Linked DNA regions of Homo sapiens: region 1 is linked to region 2. Evidence: promoter capture Hi-C in 16 types of primary human blood cells and fetal thymus (Javierre and others, 2016). All regions are on one chromosome and are shown on one strand. The core of a region is centred on a gene start or on the middle of the fragment in contact, and the rest is flanking DNA. Distances in the headings are between cores, read along the strand shown.

Region 1 (6,114 bases), core at 67-2,566, 95 kb before region 2:
CAGCCTGGGCAACAGAGCAAGAATCAGTCTTAAAAAAAAAAAAAAAAAAAAAAAAAAAAAGGAATGACTGGGCCGGGCGTGGTGGATCACACCTGTAATCCCAGCACTTTGGGAGGCTGAGGTGGGAGGATCACCTGAGGTCAGGAGTTCCAGACAAGCCTGACCAACATGGTGAAACCCTGTCTCTACTAAAAATACTAAAATTAGCTGGGCATGAACATGCATGCCTGTAATCCCAGCTACTTGGGAGGCTGAGGCATGAGAATAGCTTGAACCCAGGGGGCAGAGGTTGCAGTGAGCCGAGATCGCATCATTGCACTCTAGCCTGGGCAACAGAGCGAGACTCCGTCTCAATTTAAAAAAAAAAAGGAGAATGTCTGAAGGGATCTGGCCGTCCCTTGCAATGACCTCTGGCCCCAGAAAATCCACAAACTGGACTCCAAGGCTGCCACAGATAATGAAAAGAGCAAGGCCGGGTGTGGTGGCTCACGCCTGTAATCCCAGCACTTTGGGAGGCCGAGGCAGGCAGATCACAAGGTCAGGAAATCGAGACCATCCTGGCTAACACGGTGAAACCCCATCTCTACTAAAAATACAAAAAATTAGCCGGGCGTGGTGGCGAGCACCTGTAGTCCCAGCTACTTGGGAGGCTGAGGCAGGAAAATGGCGTGAACCTGGGAGGTGGAGCTTGCAGTGAGCCGAGATTGCGCCACTGTACTCCAGCCTTGGCGACAGAGTGAGACTGTGTCTCAAAAAAAAAAAAAAAGAAAAAAAGAAAAGAGCAAAGCCCTCATTATTTGGCTCAGCTGAATCATAATAGCTTTGAGCATCAGTTTTTAAAAAAAATTTTTTTAGAGACAGGGTCTTGCCCTGTCACTCAGGCTAGAGTGCCATGGCGTGATCATAGCTTACTGCAGCCTCAAACTCAGGCTCAAGTGATCCTCCTGCCTCAGCCTCCCAAGTAGCTGAGACTACAGGCATGCACCACCATGTCTGGCTAATTTTTAAATTTTTTGTAGAGATAAGTCCTTGCTATGTTGCCCAGGCTGGTCTCGAGCTCCCGGGCTCAAGTGATCCTCCTGCCTTGGCCTCCCAAAGTGCTGGGATTATAGGCATGAGCCAGCGTGCCCAGCCTGAGCATCAGGTTTTAGATCCAGGAAATGAACACGATGATACCCAAGGTGCAGTTCCTATCTGATAAGATTGCAAAGATCCAATTAGATAATAATGTAAAAGAAAGAGCTATTTAATCCGTAAAATACAAATGGAAAGTGCTATTATTAGCATTAAAAGACAAAGTGGGGGCTGGGCACGGTGGCTCACGCCTGTAATCCCAGCACTTTGGGAGGTCAAGGTAGGCAGATCATCTGAGGTTGGGAGTTCAAGACCAGGCTGACCAACATGGAGAAACCCCATCTCTACTAATAATAATACAAATAATAATACAAAATTAGCCGGGCATGGTGGCACATGCCTGTAATCCCAGCTACTCGGGAGGCTGAGGCATGAGAATCGCTTGAACCTGGGAGGTGGAGGTTGAGTGAGCTGAGATGGTGCCACTGCACTCCAGCCAGGGCGACAAGAGCAAAACTCCATCTCAAAAAAAAAAAAAAGACAAAGTGGGTTGACTCTTCCTTACTTTTGCTTTCTCCTGCCAAACTTCTTTGGCTAGCGTCTTTACGGTCTTCAGCTGCTCCTGCAGTTCAGGAGGTATGGTCCTTTTGACTATGGAAAGCAGAAGCCTTATGATCAGAGGGGTTAGATCTCTAGTGGGCTCCCAATCTCCATTTCCAGCCCCTGTAACACTGAAGCTACCCTAGAGGACAGCAGGACCTATTACTTTATCCTGTGTCTCCTGGTGACTGGGAAAGGGAGGTGGGAAGAAGGGAGAGAGAGCTGTCCTTAGCCCATGAAACATCCACCTAATGCCTGACATCCTAAAGGGCTTTGGGACAACTGACTCCCGAATTCCAACCACTGCAAAAAATCTTAATTACTCTCTGGGCTTGGAGTTGGGAACAGGCAAATGTTAAGTTTTGTTTTGTTTGAGACAGGGTCTTGCTCTGTCACCCAGGCTGGAGTGCAGTGATCCATCACAGCTCACTGCAACCTCTGCCTCCCTGGCTCCAACAATCTTCCCACCTCAGCTTCCCAAGTAGCTGGGACTACAGGTGTGTGCCACCACGCCTGGCTAATTTTTTTTTTGTTTTTTTTGGTAGAGATAGAGTTTTGCCACATTGCCTAGGCTGGTCTCGAACTCGGCCTCAAGCTATCCACCCAGCTCTGCTTCCCAAGGTGCTGGGATTACAGGTGTGAGCCATTGCTCCCAGTCAAAATGTTAAGTTTAATTCTTCAACATTCTCTCCCGCCCACCTCCCAATGCTACTGCTCTCTATAACCAGACACTTTCCCCCACTGCTGTGCAGAGAGCCTGACAAAGCCACAAGAACCCGCTCCACTCCTCTCCTGGGGCTTAGTTCTCTCCTTTGCCCACCCATTTTTTTGGACTCTGAAGGCTGTGGGACATGCTCTGAATGACATGCTGTTTTCAGGGACTCAGGGAGATGTGTAGCAGCCAGGAGTTGAGGCCAGGGGAAGAAAAGGATGAAACCAACTGAAAACAGAGACAATGGTTTCTCCTCTATCGGCAAGCGGCACCCACCCATCTGTGCCAGCAGGAACTGGATCTTCTCCAAGTCGGTTTGGCCGGCCTGCTCCTCATCCAGATCCTTCATACTCTCCTTTAGCCCCACATAGAGGCTACTGAGCTCTCCCATCAGATGAAATGTCTCCACTGCCGTGGGGAAACTAGAACTCATTCTACGCAGTGAATTGCGTCGCTCACTCAGGACTTCACTCGAGACTTCGCTCCCTTCTGATAAGACTCGGTCGACGGAGTCTGGACTCCTGAAAAGAGTGACATCTTGGCCTGGGGCCTTCTGGGCAGGAATTCCATGTCGGTCCGAGGCTCGTGTTCTATTTGGATCCAAACCTTCCTGGCCATGCTGATCAGCACTTAGATACCCTGGGCCACGATAACCAGGATACATTGAATCATGACTGTCAAAGAGAGAGAAAGCATGGCCATGCTGAGCTGCATCTGGGTATACCTGGTCATGCTCACCTGGGCCAGGTGATGCCACATGCTGTTGATCTGGGTGTGTAGATCCCAAACCTGTACTCAGTGGTATTGGGCTGTGCTGGTCTGTGCCAGGATGCATCAAACCTTGCTGATAAGTTTCTGGTGGTACCAAACTCCTTCGATCTATACCAGGTGATGCCAAACCTTGACTGGCTAGGAGTGGTGACACCTGGCCGTATTGTTCTCTGCCAGGAGGTACCATACCATGTTGATATGGACGTACTGATATAAAACCTGTAGAATCTGCCTGGAATGTTGAAGAGCCACGAAGCTTTGTGCCTGGTGCTATCAAGCCTGGCTGATATGCACCAGGTTGTCTCAAACCATACTGATCCATTCCTGGCTGCACCAGACCACGTGGATATGTCCCAGATTGAGATAAATCATGCAAATATGCACCAGGTTGTACCAAACCAAGAGGATAGGCACCAGGTTGTACCAGGCCATGTGGATCTGCCTGAGGTTGCACCATACCTTGCTGACCTATTCCAGGCTGCACCATACCCAGCTGACCTGCACCAGGCTGGACCAAACCAGGCTGATCTGCACCAGGTTGGATCAAACCACGCTGGTCCATTCCAGGTTGGACCAAACCACGCTGATCCACTCCAGGTTGCACCAAACCACGCTGATCCACTCCAGGTTGGACCAAACCACGCTGATCTGCACCAGGTTGGACCAAACCATGCTGAACTGCACCAGGTTGGACCAAACCACGCTGAACTGCACCAGGTTGAACCAAACCACGCTGATCCACTCCAGGTTGGACCAAACCACGCTGAACTGCACCAGGTTGCACCAAACCACGCTGAACTGCACCAGGTTGCACCAAACCACGCTGAACTATACCAGGTTGCACCAAACTACGCTGAACTTCACCAGGTTGTGCCAAACCATGCTGATCCACTCCAGGTTGGACCAAACCATGCTGATCTGCACCAGGTTGGACCAAACCACGCTGATCTGCACCAGGTGGGACCAAACCACGCTGATGATCTGCACGAGGTTGTGCCAAACCACGCTGATCTACTCCAGGTTGGACCAAACCATGCTGAACTGCACCAGGTTGAGCCAAATCACTCTGATCTGCACCAGATTGTACCAAACCATGCTGATCTGCACCAGGTTGCACCACATCAATCTGATCTGCACCAGGTTGGACCAAGCCAGGCTGATATGCACCAGGCTGCACCAAAGCACGCTGAAATCTGCCAGGTTGGACCATGCCAGGCTGATCTACACCAGGCTGTACCAAGACACCCTGACCTGTGCCAGATTGGACCAAATCATGCTGACCTGTGCCAGGCTGGATCAAACCATGCTGATCTCTACCAGGTTGGGCCAAACCAGACTGATCCATTCCAGGCCAGACCAAACCACGCTGATCTGCACCAGGTTGGGCCAAACCAGACTGATCCATTCCAGGCCGGACCAAACCACGCTGATCTGCACCAGGTTGGACCAAGCCAGGCTGATATGCACCACGCTGCACCAAAGCACGCTGAAATCTGCCAGACTGGATCAAATCATGCTGCTCTGTGCCAGGTTGTATGAAGCCAGTTGCTTCCAAACTGGGCTGCACAAAACCTTGCTGATCTGCACTAATTGGCATCAAACCAGGTGATACCAAACCATGCTGGTCTGTAAAAGGTAGAACCAGGCCATGTTGATCGACGACAGGCAATGTCAATCCTTGCTGGTCTATACCAGGGGGTACTAGTCCTTGCTGACCCATGCCTGATATTACACATCCACGCTGATCCATGCCAAGTGGTTCCATACTGCGTTGGTCTGTGCCAGGAAATGTCATACCATGCTGATATGCACTGACTGAAACCAGACCATGTTGGTCTGTGCTAGGTAGTTCCAATCCTTGCTGGTCTCTGCCAGGTACTGATGGTGGCAACATACGTTGCTCATCCACGACAAATGGTATCAATTCCCGATCATCCATTTCAGGTGGTGGCACACCAAGCTGACCCATGCTGAGGGGTACCACACCATGTGGGTAAGTGCTAGCAGGCACTAATCCAGGCTGATTCATGCCAGTTGGTTCTAACCCACGACGATCTGGCCTTAGATGGACCTGACTCTGGCTAGCGGGCACACTACTGGGCTGGTCTCTGGCCAAGGGTAAGTCCTGTTGAACTGGACCAGGACGTGCATTTCTTCTTGGTTGTGTCGAGGTAAGCTTCTCTCTACTCCTGTGACGATCTGAGTCTGATTTGAATTGGAATGTAGAAGACTGATGGAGTCGTGGCACGCCAGCTTCATCACGGGCCCTCGGCTGCTGCTGTCTCCCAGTACCAGAGGGGACCTTGCTTTGTTCCCTACTGGAAACCCCATCAGAGGGGTGTGCTGTGCCACCAGATCCTGATGCAGTCCGATCCGGGCCAAGACCACTGGCAGAATCCAGAGCCTGCTCAATACTTGGTTGCTTGGTAGAGTCTCCGCTTAGAGTCCCTTCAGGTGATGTTAAGGAAGTGAACCCTCCGTGCTTAGAAAATCCCATAAGTGTTTCTGAGCCCTGGTTGGAGAGGAAGAAGGAAATCAATAACAGTCAAAATATTCACTATCAGAGTGGGAAGAAAGGAAATCTGGAAGTTCTGACTAGGATGATTTAGGGCCCCTGGAGAAAAAAGCCCTCTGGTCCTAAAAGCTAAGCTTGACATAAAGAAACACACTGATGGGAGGCCGAGGCGGGTGGATTACTTGAGATCAGGAGTTCGAGACCAGCCTGACCAATATGGTGAAACCCTATCTCTACTAAAAATACAAAATTAGCCAGGCGTGGTGGCATGTGTCTGTAATCTCAGCTACTCAGGAAGCTGAGGCAGGAGAATTGCTTGAACCTGGGAGATGGAGGTTGCCGTGAGATTGTGCCATTGTGCTCCAGCCTGGGTGACAAGAGTGAAACTCCATCTCAAAAAAAAGAAAAGGAAAAGAAACACACTGACGTTCTGGGAGGCTAG
Region 2 (6,214 bases), core at 3,715-6,214:
AGTGGGTAGGGCTGCAGCTCGCCACCTTGAGAGGGCTCTGAAGAGAATCACCCTGAATTGCAGCCACAGTCAGCAGCCTGGAGGTGAGGGCATGTGACAGGCAGAGCCCAGAGGCCCAGAAGAGACCTGGGTCCCCAGCCTCAGCAAGGACGACAAGGACAAGGAGACCACCCAAGGGATAGAGCTAGGGTCACCCCACCATACACTCATCATAGTCAAACCACTGGGGAGAATCAGAAACTCGGGCAAAGCACACACTCCCTGCAAGCAGCCAAGAATCTCGCATGACCAGTCTGGTCCTCTGGATCTCCACATGTGGCCACGTGTGGCGCGTGGCATCCCCTCCACCCCAATGCCTGGTATGGTCGACCTGGAAATGACATCTAGGAAACTGAGAATGGAAAGCCATGTGGGGGCAGCGCTAAGCTTTTTTTTTTCTTTTTCTTTTTTTGAGACGGAGTCTTGCTCTGTTGCCCAGGCTGGAGTACAGTGGTGCAATCTCGGCTCGCTCTTGGGTTCAAGCAGTTCTCCTGTCTCAGCCTCCTGAGCAGCTGGGACTACAGGCACCTGCCACCGCGTCCGACGAATTTTTGTATTTTTAGTAGAGATGGGGTTTCATCATCTTGGCCAGGCTGGTCTCAAATTCCTGACCTCGTGATCCACCCGCCTCAGCCTCCCAAAGTGCTGGGATTACGGGCGTGAGCCACTGCGCCCAACCAGCCCTAAGCTTTTTTTTTTTTTTTTGAGACATAGTCTTGCTCTGTCCCCAGGCAGGAGTGCAGTGGCACCATCTCAGCTCACTGCAACCTTCGCCTCCCGGGTCCAAGCGATTCTCCTGCCTCAGCCTCCCAAGTAGCTAGGATTACAGGCATGCACCACAACACCCAGCTAATTTTTGTATTTTCAGTAGAGACGGGGGTTTCACCATGTTGGCCAGGATGGTCTCAAATCTCCTGACCTCATGATCACCCGCCTTGGCCTCCCAAAGTGCTGGGATTACAGATGTGAGCCACCGTGCCCGGCCCCTAAGCTCAAAGAGCTTGTGAGATAGAACCTCCCCCTTCCCCGGTCCTTGCAACCCCCTAGGCAGTAAAGTACCATAAAAAGGGAAAAACCGGAGTGGTGGCTCATGCCTATAACCCCAGCACTTTGGGAGGCCGAGGCAGGCGGATCACTTGAGGTCAGGAGTTTGAGACCAGCTTGGCCAACATGTGAAACACAAACTCTACTAAAAATACAAAAATTAGCTAGGTGCAGTGGCTCACACTTGTAATCACAGCTATTCGGGAGGCTGAGGCAAGAGTATTGCTTGAAACCGGGAGGCAGAGGTTGCAGTGAGCCAAGATCGCGCCACTGCACTCCAGCCTCAGCCTGGGCAACAGAGCGAGACTCTGTCTCAAAAAAAAAAAAAGGGAAAGAAGTTGAGGTCAAGGAAGACCTTGAGGCTATGCAATTAGGGAGCTGAAATCTCCTAGGGAAGGTAGCTTCAGGGAAGGGTGAGATGGCAGGAATCCTCTCCTCATAAAAGCAAGTAATTTGCCATCTGGCAGCCTTGACTCCAAGTTTCTGGAGAGCTGGGACCAGGCCAGGTGAATGCCTGCTTTCTTTCTCGGGAAAAGAAAAAAGGGGGTTCTCAGGTGTGTCTCCCTGGGGAGGCTGCCCACAAGGAAGGGGAGGCTGGGGAAGTTAGAAAAAGTCTCCCACCTGTGAAGCAGATTACCTGCAAGCCAAGCTCTGGGTTGGTGATCAAATCAGACCTCTCTGCCGGCCCAGGCCTGTTCCCAGGCCCACGGTGGGCCTTGCTGAGCACAGCGGCTGCTCAGCTGTTTCCAGACTCAGGATGAAGCCTGGGGAGGGCTTGGAGCTGCTTCCTCTTTCTTTTTTTTTTTGAGATGGAGTTTCGCCCTGTCACCCAGGCTGGAGTGCAATGGGACGATCTCAGCTCACCACAACCTCTGCCTCCTGGGTGCAAGCAATTCTCCTGCCTCAGCCTCCCAAGTAGCTGGGACTACAGGTATGCGCCACCACACCCGGTGTAGAGACGGGGTTTGAGACGGGTTTCTCCACGTTGGTCAGGCTGGTCTCCAACCCCCGATCTCAGGTGATCCACCCACGTCGGCCTCCCAAAGTGCTAGGATTACAGGAGTGAGCCACTGCGCCCGGCCTGCTGCTTCCTCCTCCTCAGGGAGACGCCACAGCTCTGCGGCAAGCAATCCACCAGGCACCAGATCCCCAGATACCTGCCCTTCAGGGAGAAATAGCCTGGGATACAGAGAGGCCCAGAGGGGAGCTCTGGCTGGACTTGGCTTCTCAGCGTGGGGTCTGGGTTCACAGGTTTGCTTCTCTGCTTTGTGGGGAACTGGTTGGAGGCTTGTGCAAGCCTCTTCACCTCTCAGGGTTTCAGGCCCCCCCAACTCCTTCCCGCCTTGTCCTTTTTTCTTTTTTAAAAAAGGAAGTAAAGTACAGTGGGAAACGGGCCAAGCTGGCAGCTTGAGAGATCCAAGTGCCCGCCCCCCGACCCGCAACCGTGGGAAGGGGAACCATCTTGCTCTTGGCCAATCCTGCCTCTCTGAGCAGGGATGCAGCTGGGGGAGTTTCTGGAGATAGGATCAAATTCTTTAGAAAGGGAGAAGGGGAAAGGGGTCTGGAGAAAGGCAGCCTGGGTTGGGGGAAGTGAATGACAAGAATGAGGGGGGCAAAGGCCTTGGAGGTGAGGGGGGCAGGGGGTTAGGCGCCAGGGAGGACAGAGGACCCATTGTGCGGCCTGGAACCGGGGCCAGAGGGCTTTGCCCTTCGCCTCCCTCCCGCGGGGCCTTCCAGAGCCAGGAGGGGAGCTGGGGCCCGGAGGCGTTGGATAAAGAGCCCGTGCCCCGCCTCCCCTTGCCAACTCAGTTTGCAGTCAACCCCGCCCCCGCCCGCTCCGCGGACTCAAGGCTGGTGGTAGTGGGCCTGGAGGCGCAGGATCCGACCTTTCTGGGGCCCCAGGAGGAAAAAAAAAGGGGGGACCCTGAACCAGGTGGGCTTTATCACCACGAACTCACAGTGCTTCCCTGTGCCTCAGTTTCCCCTCTTCAGACTCTATGGCTAATGACAGAGCTTTTCAGATTTGGTGGAAATGCTCTCCGGGGCGGGGAGCAGACGGGGAAGGCTGCCCCAGCTAATCTCCGCAGCCAGTACCCTCGAAGGCTGAGATCTCGGGGAGCACAGCCTCCGATTCGCGTTTTCTAGGCACCAAAGTCCCTCGCTGGAGGAAGAGGAGGGGAAGAAGGCAGAGGAGAGGGGAGGGGCGGACGGATCTGGTCCTGGGCTCCCGCGCGGAGCCCCCTCCTCCCACAGCCGCCGCTCGCGTCCCCGCAGCGCATGACCGCGGCACTGCGGCTGCAGGGCTCTCTCCCCCGCCCGCGCCGGATTCCTGGAGCAAGGGGGTGGGGGGCTCGGAGGTGCAGGACCCATCATTCCGACACGCGCCGCGACGCCAGGAGTCGGGGATGACGCCCCTGCTCCCTCCCCTCGTTCCTGTTTCTCGGAGTTTTTCGACCCCTGAGCGCGTCGCTGAGTCACCTTCCCGGAACGCGCTCGGGACGCTCTGGACCCAGCGGGGACTGCCCGGGGGCCGCGCAAGGCGAAGGCGCACCCGCCGATACGCGCGCGGAGCTGCGGCCCCAGGGACCCCGCGTCCCAGCCAGTGCCCCCCGACCCGCCCGGGGACTCTCGGGTCCCGCCCGTCTGACCCCCCAAGTGTTGGGAAACGGGGCCGAGCTGCCTGGGTCCTCCGGAAGAGAAGACACCGCGGAGGCGTGCCGGAGTTCAGGGCGCCGCCCGGCTAATTGGCTGCGTGCTCCTCCTGGACCTGCCTCTTCTCGACTTTAAGAAGCGATGAGAGAGGTGTGTGGGGGCGGGTGGGGCCGGCGGGGGCGCGCGAGCCCCGCAGCCTCCCGCAGGGGCTTGGTTTCTCCTAACTCTGGCCCTACCTGGGCAGGTCACCAATGGGCCTTGGCAACTTCTTCCTCCGTCTCCGCCGTAACCCCCCAGGGATCTAACTCGAGGTGCTCGCGGACACGTTCTGTGGCTTGCCGCGATAAGTGTATCACAAACACACTGACAAACGCGTCCCTACTGGCCTCCAAAGAAGTGACAACTTCTGAGCGCGTTTCCGGCGCCCCTTCTTCACGCTGAGCCAGAGGGGGCGGGGGGCACGTACCACATGCTTGGCTTTCCAATCCCGACGGGGGCCCCCAGGCCCATCTACACTGTCAAGCCTCCTCTCCGGCTCGGAGCCCCCGGCCTGTCGCCTGCTCTACCCGGGACAGCGCGCTAGGCGGCCTCAGGCTCGGTAGCCCAGCTGCAGCGTCGGGAAGTTAAAAATAACCTCCGTGGGAGCGCGGGGGAGGAAGAAAGAGGGAAGCTGGTGGGCGGCGGGCGAGACGCCCCGGCCTGGAGAGGCGCCCCGGGTGGCGTGCGGGCCTCGAATTTCGGGTGGGCTAGGGCAGAGCGCGCAAAAGGGGCGCTGCATCCCGGCGCCGACAGCACCCGCGGGGGCGAGGTCGTGGCGTCGAGGTGAAACCAAGGGTCCCCCGGGAGAGCGGAGCCGCGCGCGCCCGGCGCTCGCTCCGACACGAGTTCGCGCGGAGCCCGCGCCTCCGTCTGCGCTGCGCGGTCGCTTTCGCGCGCCCCAGACACTGCGCTCGCGGCCGGGCCCGGGACTCCGCGCCTCGCGGCCTGCCGCCTCAGCTCACCCGGCCAGGTCGCGGCGCCGCCTTCTAGCCAGACGCCTAGGACGAGCGGCGGGGGCGCGCTTGCCGCTTCCTAGGACCCGGGCGGGAACCAGCTCGTGGCCCGGCCGTGGGCGCGGGCCGTGCCGGAGGCGGCGCGCTGAGGCCGGAGGCGGGCAGAGGCCGAGGCCGCGCCGGGCTCAGGTTCCACCCCCGGGAGCGCGGGGCGGAGCCAGGCCGGCGCCGAGGCTCAGTGCCCTCCCCGCTCCGCGGCGCCGGCTGCGAAGTTGAGCGAAAAGTTTGAGGCCGGAGGGAGCGAGGCCGGGGAGTCCGCTCCAGCGGGGCGCTCCAGTCCCTCAGACGTGGGCTGAGCTTGGGACGAGCTGCGTTCCGCCCCAGGCCACTGTAGGGAACGGCGGTGGCGCCTCCCCAGCAAACCGGACCGACTGGGTAGGGCCGCCCACCCTGCCTTCGCGCCGCTCGTGGCTCCTGTGCGGCCCGCCCTCGCGGGGCCCCGGGAACTGGGCCACTTGTCGCTTGGGCGAGAGCAGGCGGCAGCTGGTGGCCCGGTTCGGGCTTGGCTTTGGCGCGACCCGGGAGCGGCTCCCACGAGCGCCGCGCGCGTCGCAACGGAGCGGGGCCCTGAGAAGCGCGCGCCGCGGCTCCCACCGCTCTGGAGCTCCGGGCAGGGGACACGGCAACCTGGATGGCTGGGGCAGGGATCCTCTCCCAGAACTTCGTGCCCAGCAATGTCCGCTCAAGTTCTGGGATTTTTACGCAGCTGGACTCCCCTCCCCCTGGCAGCCCCGAGGGGTGAGGAGCTAGTCCGTCGGAGGGAGCCACGGGGCTCTGACTCATCCGTCGGGCCGGAACCGAACCCCAAGCCCCAGGGAGAAAGCCCCGGAGCAGGCGCCCTTCTCAGGGATTGTAGGCTTAGTCACACGGCGGGGGCGCCCTCGGAGGCACCGGACCTCAGCTCTCTGGACTTCCCGGGAACCTGGCTCCCCGCGCGTGGTCCCGGGATTTAGTCGGGCGCTCCCCACCTCTGGCAGCTGCGGCCCCGGACTCCGCCAGCGCTGTCTTCTCTCCCTCAGGTCCAGCCGCCGCAGGGAATGACGCCGGTGCTCCTGCAGCCACGGCTCCGGGCGGGGAAGGCGAGCCCCACAGCCGGCCCTGCGACGCCCGCCTGGGCAGCACCGATAAGGAGCTGAAGGCAGGAGCCGCCGCCACGGGCAGCGCCCCCACAGCGCCAGGGACCCCCTGGCAGCGGGAGCCGCGGGTCGAGGTTATGGATCCAGGTTTGTGGGGTTCCTGCTGGGAAGGGCTGTAGGGGGATTCCTGTTCCTCGCCAGGAATGATGGAACGCCCAGCTGGACGAAAGGGGCTGTGGACGATCGGGAGAAACATTATCCCTCACGAGGCCAGAAGCCGGCCGAATCTGAGCCAAGGAAGGGGGTGGCAGGGGCGCCGCGTCCCCACCCCAGGTCTCCCAGCAAAGGCCG

Evidence for each region. The method cuts DNA at HindIII sites, captures the fragments that hold promoters and counts their contacts. A CHiCAGO score of 5 or more calls a contact.
Region 1: a contact is called between a fragment that was not itself captured here and the fragment with the promoter of SPHK1 in region 2, in 3 of 17 cell types (megakaryocytes, endothelial precursors and M1 macrophages). The highest score is 6.0, in megakaryocytes.

Annotation. Positions count from the first base shown.
Region 1 is chr17:76,288,353-76,294,466 of GRCh38, forward strand. QRICH2 (glutamine rich 2) reads right to left here. Exons shown (of 19, transcript NM_001388453.1): 4 at 2,663-5,669; 5 at 1,640-1,725. Among named protein-coding and RNA genes, the nearest start is that of QRICH2, 17 kb to the right of the region's middle. The HindIII fragment of the contact is 4,189 bases long and covers 1-3,411 here.
Region 2 is chr17:76,379,645-76,385,858 of GRCh38, forward strand. SPHK1 (sphingosine kinase 1) reads left to right here and starts at 4,965. Exons shown (of 6, transcript NM_001142601.2): 1 at 4,965-5,162; 2 at 5,807-6,010. The coding sequence starts at 6,001. RefSeq lists silencers at 3,603-3,892, 3,913-4,052, 4,633-5,332. The HindIII fragment of the contact is 9,575 bases long and covers 726-6,214 here.